Regions from separate parts of the Homo sapiens genome. Here regions 1 and 2 are each linked to region 3. Evidence: promoter capture Hi-C in human tissues and cell types (Jung and others, 2019). All regions are on one chromosome and are shown on one strand. The core of a region is centred on a gene start or on the middle of the fragment in contact, and the rest is flanking DNA. Distances in the headings are between cores, read along the strand shown. Region 1 holds the start of FKBP8 (FKBP prolyl isomerase 8). Region 2 holds the start of KLHL26 (kelch like family member 26). Region 3 holds the start of CERS1 (ceramide synthase 1).

Region 1 (3,264 bases), core at 1-2,500, 350 kb before region 3:
TGCCCAAGGTCACAGAGAAAGCCAAAGGCCAAAGGAGGATTTGAACCTGGGGCTTCAGGCCCTGTGGCTTTGCCTGATTATAAGCTGAGCGAAGGGTGCTGGGATTTTTGTGGAGAGGACAGCCTCCGAGGCCTTAGGGAAGCCATTTTTAGAGCCTCTAAGGCCACTGGGGGAAATTGAATCTTTTACCAGGGCCTCCCACCTCCAGCCTCTTCTCCAAAGGGGAGACCCTCCCCAAAAGCACCAACTGTAATCACCCAGAAACCCCAAGCGTTTTTTCCTTCCACACTCTGAATCTAACACTATCCCCCACAACCCCAACATCAGGGACCCTGGCCCAAATCCTTCCCCAGGAGACCATCCTCCTCTCATCAGGCCTCGGTCCCACCCCCTCAAAGCAGCCTCCTTTCCAGGAGTGGTCGAGGTCCCACCACATTCTACAGCCTCTTCCTTGCCCCAGACCTCCTGAACCAATAACCAACCCCTCCGTCCCCCAGGCCCCAAGCTCAGAAGAGTGTGGCACAGCCATCAAACCAGCCCGCCGCATCCCCTCCCTAACCCTCACCTGCCTGCTCCTCCCGGGCTCGGAGCCCCACTTTGAGAGACCCTCCCAGCCCCCACCCCCATAATTCCCCGCGCCCGCACAATTCGGCCTCCCCTCCCACCCCCCACCCCAACCACCACCGCCCCCAGCACGGGCCAGCTCCCCCCACAGCCGCTCCGTCTCGCCGTAAACACTCCAGTGTCCCCAGACGCCCCCCCCTTTCCGATCCCATAACACCCCACGCTCTCCTGACGCCCCACAGCCCCGGCCGGGCCCTCAGTCAAGCCGCGACCCAGGCCCCCAACGACCCACGCCTGTCTGACGCCACCAGTCTGGGGCACCCGACCCCCGCACGCCTCGGGCGCCCCTGGCCCTGCACGCCTCCATCGGGACCCCCCCACTGGATCCCCTTTGCCCCCAGTGACCCCCATCCCTGGCCACCCCCGCCCGGCCGCGCCCCCTCGGGCACCCCCGACCCCCGTGCCCCCCCGGCTCGCCACCCCCGCGGCCCCTCGCCCCGCCCATCGGCCGCAGCCCCCGGCGCGCTAGCCCCCGGACCAGCCTAGGCCAGGGCAGCGGCCCGGCCGGCACGGCGCCCCCAGCACCCCAGGACACTTGCCTCTGGCTCCGGGACCCCCACTTGGGGTCCTGCGCCCCCCTCCCCGCCCCCAGCCGCGGCCGCCGCGCCTCGGGAACCAGGTTCGGCCGCTTGGCCCCGCCCCTGCCGTGCCCATTGGCCGCCGCTGCCGCGACTGCCGCACCCGTTGGCTCATGCAGACGTCCGTCCCGGGCGTTGGCACCTCCCCCTTCCTGCTTGGCCCCGCGGGGCGTTCTTAAAGGGACCGAAGCCTCCCGGCTGCTGGGGCTGGGGCGGGGGCTGGGGCGGGGGCTGGGGCGGGGGCTGGGGCGGGGGCGGGGGACCCTGGGCTGGACCCCAACACGGGTCAGTATCGCGCAGCCTGTGCGACTCCTGCCTCTCCTCTGAGCTTCATCCTGACCATCTGCGAAATGGGGATAAACACCCCCATCTATGCACTCTCACCTTGGGGGCTGCTGGGGGCACAGTCCACTCTAAATGTTATTTCCTTAAAGAGTTCAAGCTTGACGGGCAGGGCAGCTCTGGGGTTGCTGAATGACCCATCCTGAAGCCTTAGTTACAGAAGTGAACCTGAGGGCCTGAGGAGGAGTGACGTGCCCAAAGGCATACAGAAACCTCCCTCCCATCCCCCACACAGTTTAATGTCTAGAAGGTTGCCTGGTGCATACTGGAGGCGCTCGATTACTGCTGCGCAGGCGACTGAGCCAGCAGGGCCACTGGGAGGAGTTCCTCCTCTATGCACTGTCTGCTGGAGGGTGATAAGGTCCCCATGGCTCGGGAAGAAGGTGGCATCCTTGATTAGCTAAGTTTTTGTGGATCTTGTTTTGAAACCGGGACACTTCTCCCTCCTTCACTCAGTTTTATTTCCTTCCTAGCAGTTACTCCTTCCAGAATTATCTTGTCATTATTTTGCTTGTGGTTGGAGGGACCATCCCTCACTCTGCTTCATCCTGGCAGAGATTTTTACCTGATTTGTACCCAGCACCTCCTTGAACCATGCCTGGCATCTATAGAAGCTCAATAAATGGGTAGGTGGATGGATGGATGGATGGATGGATGGATGGATGGATGGATGAGTCAGACACCAGCTTTTGGAGGTAGCTATCATGGAGGTGGTAACTGGCTTTTTGGAGATCACTTCTAAGGTTGGAGTTCCCAGGTTACCTCCTACAGGAAGCCCTCCCAACCTCCCCAAGGCAAGACCAGGTGCCCCCTTTAGCTGTCTTGGCACAATGAAGTTGATGAACGTCCACTTCATAACTAGTTTACTTGGGTTTTTTGTTTGTTTGTTTGTTTTTGTTTTTTGAGAAGAAGTTTCACTCTTGTTGCCCAAGCTGGAGTGCAATGGCGCAATCTCAGCTCACCGCAACCGCTGCCTCCCAGGTTCAAGCGATTCTCCTGCCTCAGCCTTCCAAGTAGCTGGGAGTAGAGGCATGCACCACCATGCCTGGCTAACTTTGTATTTTTAGTAGACACGGGATTTCTTCATGTTGGTCAGGCTGGTCTCAAACTCCCGACCTCACGTGATCCGCCCACCTCGATGTACCAAAGATTACAGGCATGAGCCATCGTGCCTGGCCTTTTTTTTTTTTTTCTTTCTCTTTTTTTTTTGAGACAGAGTCTCTCTCTGTCGCCAGGCTGGAGTGCAGTGGCGCGATCTCGGCTCACTGCAACATCCACCTCCTAAGTTCCAACGATTCTCCTGCTTCAGCCTCCTGAGTAGCTGGGACTACAGGCACCCGCCACCATGCCCAGCTAATTTGTATATTTTTAGTAGAGACAGGGTTTCACCATGTTGGCCAGGATGGTCTGGAACTCCTGACCTCATGATCTGCCTGCCTCGGCTTCCCAAACTAGTTTACTTATATCTCTGCCTTTTTTTTTTTGAGATAGGGTCTTACTTTGAAACCCAGGCTGGAGTGCAGTGGCACGATCTCAGATCACTGCAACCATGTCTATCTCCTGGGCTCACGCAATCCTCCTGCCTCAGCCTCCTGAGTAGCTGGGCCCACAGGTGCACCATCATGTCCAGCTAATTTTTTTTTTTTTTTTTGAGACAGAGTCTCGCTGTGTAGCCCAGGCTAGAGTGCAGTGGCGCAATCTCGGCTCACTGCAAGCTCCG
Region 2 (3,189 bases), core at 631-3,130, 260 kb before region 3:
GAGCTTGCCGGAACGTGAGCTGTTCATGCACGCGTGCATTCAACATTTGCAGAGTGCTTACTGTGTATTGGAGATGCCAGCAGTTCCCTTCAGCACTTGGTATCTGTCAGCTTGCACAGGGTCATCTGAGAGCATTTTGTGTAACGATTGAGCACGTATTGTTGTATCAGGCCCTCTGTTGGAGATGCTGGTTGAGTGCGGTCCAACCTGCAGGAGTCCACTCAAGCAGGCCCCTTCCTTCCTCCTATGGGGTCTCCAGCCCCATAGCCACCTCCTTCTTCCAGCACTGACGGGAAAGAAGGCTTTGAGCTCCTTCTGGATCACTGCTTTCTGCCCAAGACTGCACAAGTCAGAGTTTTCTGACTTGGAGGTTAAAAGAATAAATGAGCTCCAAGCTACAGAGGGGATCCTGGGAGCCTGGAGCTTACCAGAGATGGGGGGTGAGGGGTGCCCCCAAAAGGTCTAGATGCTTCATAGACGCCTATAGATGCAGGACTTTGAGCCCTGGCTGAGGGTCAGTGTGTTGGGAGGGCTGGTGCTTGGGGATCTGAGGGTGTTGGGTCCGGTGGAATGGACTTTGGGAGTGTAAGGTTTGAAGGATCTGTGGGCAGGGATTTGGGGGAGTGGGAGATGAGTTTTGAGTAGAGAATGGGAGATAATTGGATGTGCAGGGTTTTAGAGTATGAGAAACCAGAATTGGTGTATGAAGCAGGTGGTGGGAACCTAAGGCCAGATGATTGGGGTCTCAGGGTGGAGGCTCTGAAGAGGGTATGTCAGGGGAGGGTGGGGAACCATGAGGGGCTGGAAGTCTGAGGCCTGGGCATGGGTGAGTTTCGCCCCTGAGAGAGGCCTGGGAAGGAGGTAAGACTGGAGTCGGGGTGTGCAGGGTGGGGAGAGGGAGGGTGTGGTTCTCAGAGCTTAGAGACCCATTTCTCCATGCTCCATCTCACCCTCCCTCCCACCCTACCTATAACTCACTTCCCTGTGGCTCCAACGCCTCAAAGTATAACCACGCCCAGCCAACGCCCGGGGCACGCCTGCCAGCGCCCCAGGGCACTCACAGACACTCCTTAACACCTGCACGTGCCCCGCCCCTCCTCAGATCCGCCGCTCACTTAGCCCGGCCCCACCCCCATCAGATGAGGCTCCGCCCCCCCGGCCCCGCCAATCCCTCGCCCCCTCCACGCACACACCCCTGATCTTCCCCGCCCTCCTTCCAACCAGACTCCACCCCTCGCCCAGGCCCCGCCCTTCCTCAGACCAGGCCCTCTCTTCGCTTGACCACATCCATCCCCAGATTCCTCCTCTCTCCTGCCCAGACCCGCCCAACCTCAGACCCATCTTCTCCTTTCTACCTCCCCGACCACTCCCCCACCGCATTCCTAACCTCCACCTTGTCCCTTCTCACACCTGGCCCCGCCCTTTATCCTGCGCCCCGCCTCCTCCGCAGGCCGGACCCTTGTCCCTCCTCCTCTTGCCCTGGGCCTGCCCCTTCTTCAGACCCCGCCCCACTCCTCAGCCCAGGGACCAACCCCATCCTGCGCCTACTTGTCCTGCTTCGCCCCGTCCCCACCTATCCACAGACAATACGCCCTCTCAGCCCAGAACCGCTTCCCTTTCAGACTTGGTTCCGCCCCTCACGCCAGGGTCCCGCCCCAATCCGGCACCCCTAGCCCAGGCCCCGCCCTGGACCCACCTCTCTGCATAGCAGGCCCCTCCCTTTATCCCAGACCCGCCCCGGCCCTCCGTAGACCACGCCCCTCCGATTCCGGGCCCGCCCCAATCCTTGGTTTCTGGTCCCGGCCCCGCCCCTCCGCAGACCTGGCCCCGCCCCGCCCCCCGCGTCTCGGTTTCCCGGGCCTGCGCGCGCGGCTCCCGTCACTCGAACGCGCGACGGCGGGGGGAAGATGGCGGAGTCCGGCGGTAGCAGCGGTGGTGCTGGTGGCGGCGGCGCTTTCGGCGCGGGCCCGGGCCCCGAGCGCCCGAACAGGTGAGACCCGGCCCGCAGGATAGACCTGCACCTGTCTTGGAGCCCAGGAAACCTGTGGGCAGTCTTGGGCGTCCTGAGGGGTTGAGGGGAGGCCTGGCACGGCTCGAGGGTCTTTCGCTGAGAATTTGGACTTTACGGGGCCGTGGGGTACTGGAGGAGCCGAGGGCTACTGAGGGGGTGGCTGGAGGGGGGCTGGGTGCCCCAGGACCTCGAGGCGTCTGCAGGCGGCCCTAGGGACCTGAGAATCCTGGGGGTCTGAAGGGAAACCGAGGGGCTCTTGACTGTGGTGGGCCGTGGGGCAACTGGGGATGCCAAAGGGCCTGGGCAGCAGAGAGGGCCTGAGCAGGGGCCATGCCATGGCCAGTCTGAGGGTGGTGAGGTGTCTTGGGGGCTCTGAGGAAGGGGCTAAGGCCCAAGGCATCCTGGGAGGTGCTGAAGGGCCCCAAGGTGGCTAAAGGTGGTCCTGAGAGCGTGCTGAGGGGCGCTGGAAGGAGTAGAGACTGTGGGAGGCTCTGGGTGGGGGACTTAGGTGAATCTGGGAGTCTGAGATGGGGAGGCTGAGGGGGCCTGGGGTGGGTCTAGGGAACCTGAGGGGGGTGAGAGAACTCCAGGGGGTTTATAAAGAACATACAGAGGGTTCTTCTTTGGGGCTCCTCCCTTCCATCCCCATGGGGTCCAAATCCACATCCCCAACAGGCTAAAGGACTTACAGAAAGGTCTTGCCCTCAGACAAGGGGACAGAATTCACCCCTTTGGTCAGAGGGAGGCCCCCTTTCCCCATGGCCCAGTCCTGACATGGATTGCTTGAACGTCCAGGTTTGCATGACAATTAGTTATCATCAATAACTAATGATATGTGTGTGCATGCATTGTATTGGATTGTCAGAGGGAAAGAACACCTGCCTTAGGAGTGTGATCTCCTGCTCTTTTCCTATTGGGCAAAGCCAGACCCTCCCACCCCAGCTCCTCCTCTAGCCCAGCACCCAGGTCAGGCCAAGGAGGAAATTCAGGCTTTTTCTTGCTGGTGAGCTTCCAGGAGCCAGTAATTTCAGGCAACATGATAAATGATGAAGTTGTTTGATACTTACGTGCTGTGGAGTTTTGGACCTGTGGGCTGATTGTTGGAGGGAATGGCCTGATGGCCTGGCTGTGTGATTTGGTACTGAATGGAACACGCATGGGATGGGTGGGGAAGGGAG
Region 3 (3,129 bases), core at 385-2,884:
CCCGGGGCTCGGCCCTGGTAGTCTACCAGCCGCCACATCCTCCTGTCCCGCAGGGGTGGGGGACGGCTTGCCCTCCTGGGTCTCGGGCTTCCCAGCTGGAAACTGGGAAGAAGGCAGGGGCAACAAGCAGGATAAAGACCACTGCGGACCCAGGGAGGGGCCCTGGACAGCCCTGTCTCCCCCTCCCACAGTAGGGGTGTGGCTGGGGTCTCTCCCTCATGTGGGTGATATGGGGACGGGAGTGGGGAGAGTGGCAGTCAGACAACATCCCATCATCGACCTCACAAGGGCCAGCCTCTTCCCGGCCAGCAGAGAAAGGCCCCTTTGTTGGCGCTGGGCACATTGTCCCTGCACCCTCCAGCCAGACGGGCGGGGTGACACCAGCTGGTCCACGGGGGTGTCCAGGCCAAGCTAAAGGCCCAAACACCTTCCAACCAGCTCCTGCCACAGCGACCCCTCCCCAGGGAAGTGAGTGGGGTCAGGCGCCAATGTCACCATCATGGTCACTCTCTCGCAGGGGCGATGGTCTCCGCAGAAACTGGGGAATTCTGCTGTCGCCTCTTGGAGGCAGCACAGTCCAACCCTGAAGCCCCGGGCCATGTCACCTCCAAGGGAGCGACCACTGGCGTGGCCAGAGCACCCAGGCCCTTGCCATCCCTGGTCGGAGGGTGGCGCTGACCCCAGATAGGCACAAGGCAGCGACCGGGCAGCTCCTGCCTCTTCCCGATTACAGCGGGCAAGCCGGCCCCGCCGCCGCACGGACCCAGCAGAAAACGGGCAGCGGACCTCGCTCCGGGCCGGGGCGCAGCCCGCATGGCAGGGAGGCGCATGGCGCAGGCCGCGGTGCGCCGAGCCCTCCCGTTCCCGGTCCTGGGCTTCTCAGTGTCTGGCTCGGCCCTGCCGGAAAGAGCGCGCGGTGGCCGGAGCCATCCACCGCGCGGGGCCCCCTGGTCCCAAACTGACCGGAAAGGGCCGTGCCTCGGTCCCCCACGTCTCAAACATCCCACCTGTCTCGGGCCCCCCATGTCCCAGACTCACCCCAGCCCGGCCACACCCCCGCATCTACCCGGTTCCCCCACGCAGCACTGTCTGAAGGGGGCGCGCGGCGGCCCGAGAGACCTTATCCTGGGGCTCCAACGTCCTGGGCCTCTCCAGCCCGAGGCCCCCACCCACGTTCCGGCGACCCCTTCATCCGCAGCAGCCAGCGCTGGAAGAAAGGAACGCGCCGGCGGCCCCAGGTCCCCGGTCCCGGCTTCCCCCAGTCCGGGGTCCCCTCGTCCCGGCCCCCGGCCACACTGACCCGAAAGAGGCGCGCAGTGGCCGCGGAGCGCAGGGCGGTCCAGCCCAGCGCGCCGAGCGCCAGCAGCAGCAGCTCGGGCGGCGCCAGGTGCGCGTGCTCAGCCAGGCCGCGACGCGCCAGCCCCCAGCCGCAGTCCGTGCAGCCCCGCGCCGCCGCCAGCGCGCTGCCCCAGCCGCGCTGCACTAGCTGCGCGTAGCTCGGCATGGGCTCGGGCCCCGTCGGCCCCGCCGCGGGCCCCGCCGCCGCCATACCGCCCGCTCGCCCGCCGTGCCCGTCGCCTGCGCCCGCCCGCGGTAGCCGACGGAGCCGCGCGCCCCGCGTCACGCGCCGCAGCTGGGCCGGGGGCGCGCGGGCGGGAGAGCGGAGGGCGGAGGGGCGGGACCGGCGCAAGCTCCGCCCCGCTGGGGGCGCGGCTGGGGGGCGGCCAGCGGGGACGCGGGGCGCCCTGGAGGCGGGCCCGCGCCCCTGCCCGTTTCCCAGCAGAGAAACCCAGGCGCGGGGGCCGGAGCTGGGGGCCCGTTGGACCTGGACCCCGAGAGACCCCGCGCACCGCCGTGTCGCGCCCCCATGCCTGCCCCGCGCGCCCCCCGCTCCCCCACCCCACCGCGCCGTGCCCGTGACGGGGGGCACGGGGGACACTAGCAGGCAGTCCCCTCGACTGGCGACCCCCGCTTCTCCCGGCCCTCCAGCACGCCACGCCGCTCCCGCTCCATCGCCCCGGCCCGCTCCGACCTCACCGTTCTTGGAGCCCTCGCTCCTTCTCAAGGACCCGAGGCCTGGCACGCCTTGGCACAGTCTTGGGACCATCCCGTGGCCCTCCCGCATTCAGGAGGCGTAGGCTCAATGAAACATTCTCATTCTTCAAAAGGACACGGCCCACGCCAGGGCGTTGGGAGGCGCACCTAGTGGAGACGCAGCTCTCTGCCCTACACCAGGAGCTTGGCAATGGGGTTCCAGCTTGGACGCGGGTACCCTGGGCACTTCCCAGGCATCTTCTTCTGCAGGTCTGCACAGCGGGCTACTGGGACAAAGGTGTGATGGGGGCTGCTGAGATTAGGGGGTTCTCTGAGGGTCACTTGCTGCTGTGACCCTGGGGAACCCGGGGGGGGGGCTCCCCAACATCAGGTTAATACATGAGTTGCAGAGAGGCTGCAGGAGTGGGTGCCAACGTGGGAGGGACTCCCAATCTGGATCGACTGTGACATCATTGGGACCACCATAAGTGACTTTCCAATGCACTGTTCATTGACAAGGCCCTGTGCCCAAAGCCACTGAAGGCCATCGAGGAAGACACTGGTCACCTCTGTTAGGACCGCCATCTCCCCAGGCACTGCTGCACCCCCCCTCCATCCTAGCCCGCAGGATGTCCCCACACCTGGCCTTCAAGGTGCAGGATGCAGGGATGAGTCCTGCAGCAGCCGCGCTGGCTCCCGAACACCTGCACCTGAACTTCAGGGGCACAGGTGAACACACCTTCCCCTTGCCCCACACCGAGTCCCCCACAACACATCCAGGTGGCCCTGCATCTGGCCACTTCTCTGCATCTGCACAGCCTTGCCCCCCGCTCCCCGCCACCACCACCACTACCACCACTACCCTCTTCCGTCTGGTATCCTGGCTTCCTCCTCACCCCACAGAGGTGAGAAGGTGGCTGCGACGCTGTTGGCCTGTTCCTCGTCTGCTTGCAGCCCTCTATGGCTCCTGTTCCACTCAGGGAAAGCCCAAGTCCTCACTGGCTGCCCTCACAGCGCCCTGTTTCCCTCCGCCTGTGGGCTTTTCTGCTGTTCTTCCAACATGCCAAGCTCTGTCCTGCCTCAGGGCCTTTGCAC

The links. Contacts are between HindIII fragments. The study calls those that stand out against the background at their distance.
Region 1: the fragment with the promoter of FKBP8 here is called in contact with the fragment with the promoter of CERS1 in region 3 in 3 of the 25 tissues and cell types used here (IMR-90 fibroblasts, dorsolateral prefrontal cortex and lymphoblastoid cells).
Region 2: a contact is called between the fragment with the promoter of KLHL26 here and the fragment with the promoter of CERS1 in region 3, in 2 of the 25 tissues and cell types used here (dorsolateral prefrontal cortex and mesenchymal stem cells).

Annotation. Positions count from the first base shown.
Region 1 is chr19:18,542,323-18,545,586 of GRCh38, forward strand. FKBP8 (FKBP prolyl isomerase 8) reads right to left here and starts at 1,251. Exons shown (of 9, transcript NM_012181.5): 1 at 1,164-1,251. RefSeq lists a silencer at 1,067-1,496. The HindIII fragment of the contact is 12,332 bases long and covers 1-3,264 here.
Region 2 is chr19:18,635,148-18,638,336 of GRCh38, forward strand. KLHL26 (kelch like family member 26) reads left to right here and starts at 1,881. Exons shown (of 3, transcript NM_018316.3): 1 at 1,881-1,990. The coding sequence starts at 1,908. RefSeq lists silencers at 1,026-1,215, 1,256-1,335, 1,346-1,505, 1,556-2,065 and enhancers at 1,552-1,846, 1,805-2,319, 2,320-2,834. The HindIII fragment of the contact is 11,173 bases long and covers 1-3,189 here.
Region 3 is chr19:18,894,524-18,897,652 of GRCh38, forward strand. It overlaps CERS1 (ceramide synthase 1), which reads right to left and starts at 1,635. Exons shown (of 8, transcript NM_021267.5): 1 at 1,301-1,635. The coding sequence starts at 1,549. GDF1 (growth differentiation factor 1) reads right to left here and starts at 1,635. Exons shown (of 8, transcript NM_001492.6): 1 at 1,301-1,635. RefSeq lists a silencer at 636-685. The HindIII fragment of the contact is 24,852 bases long and covers 1-3,129 here.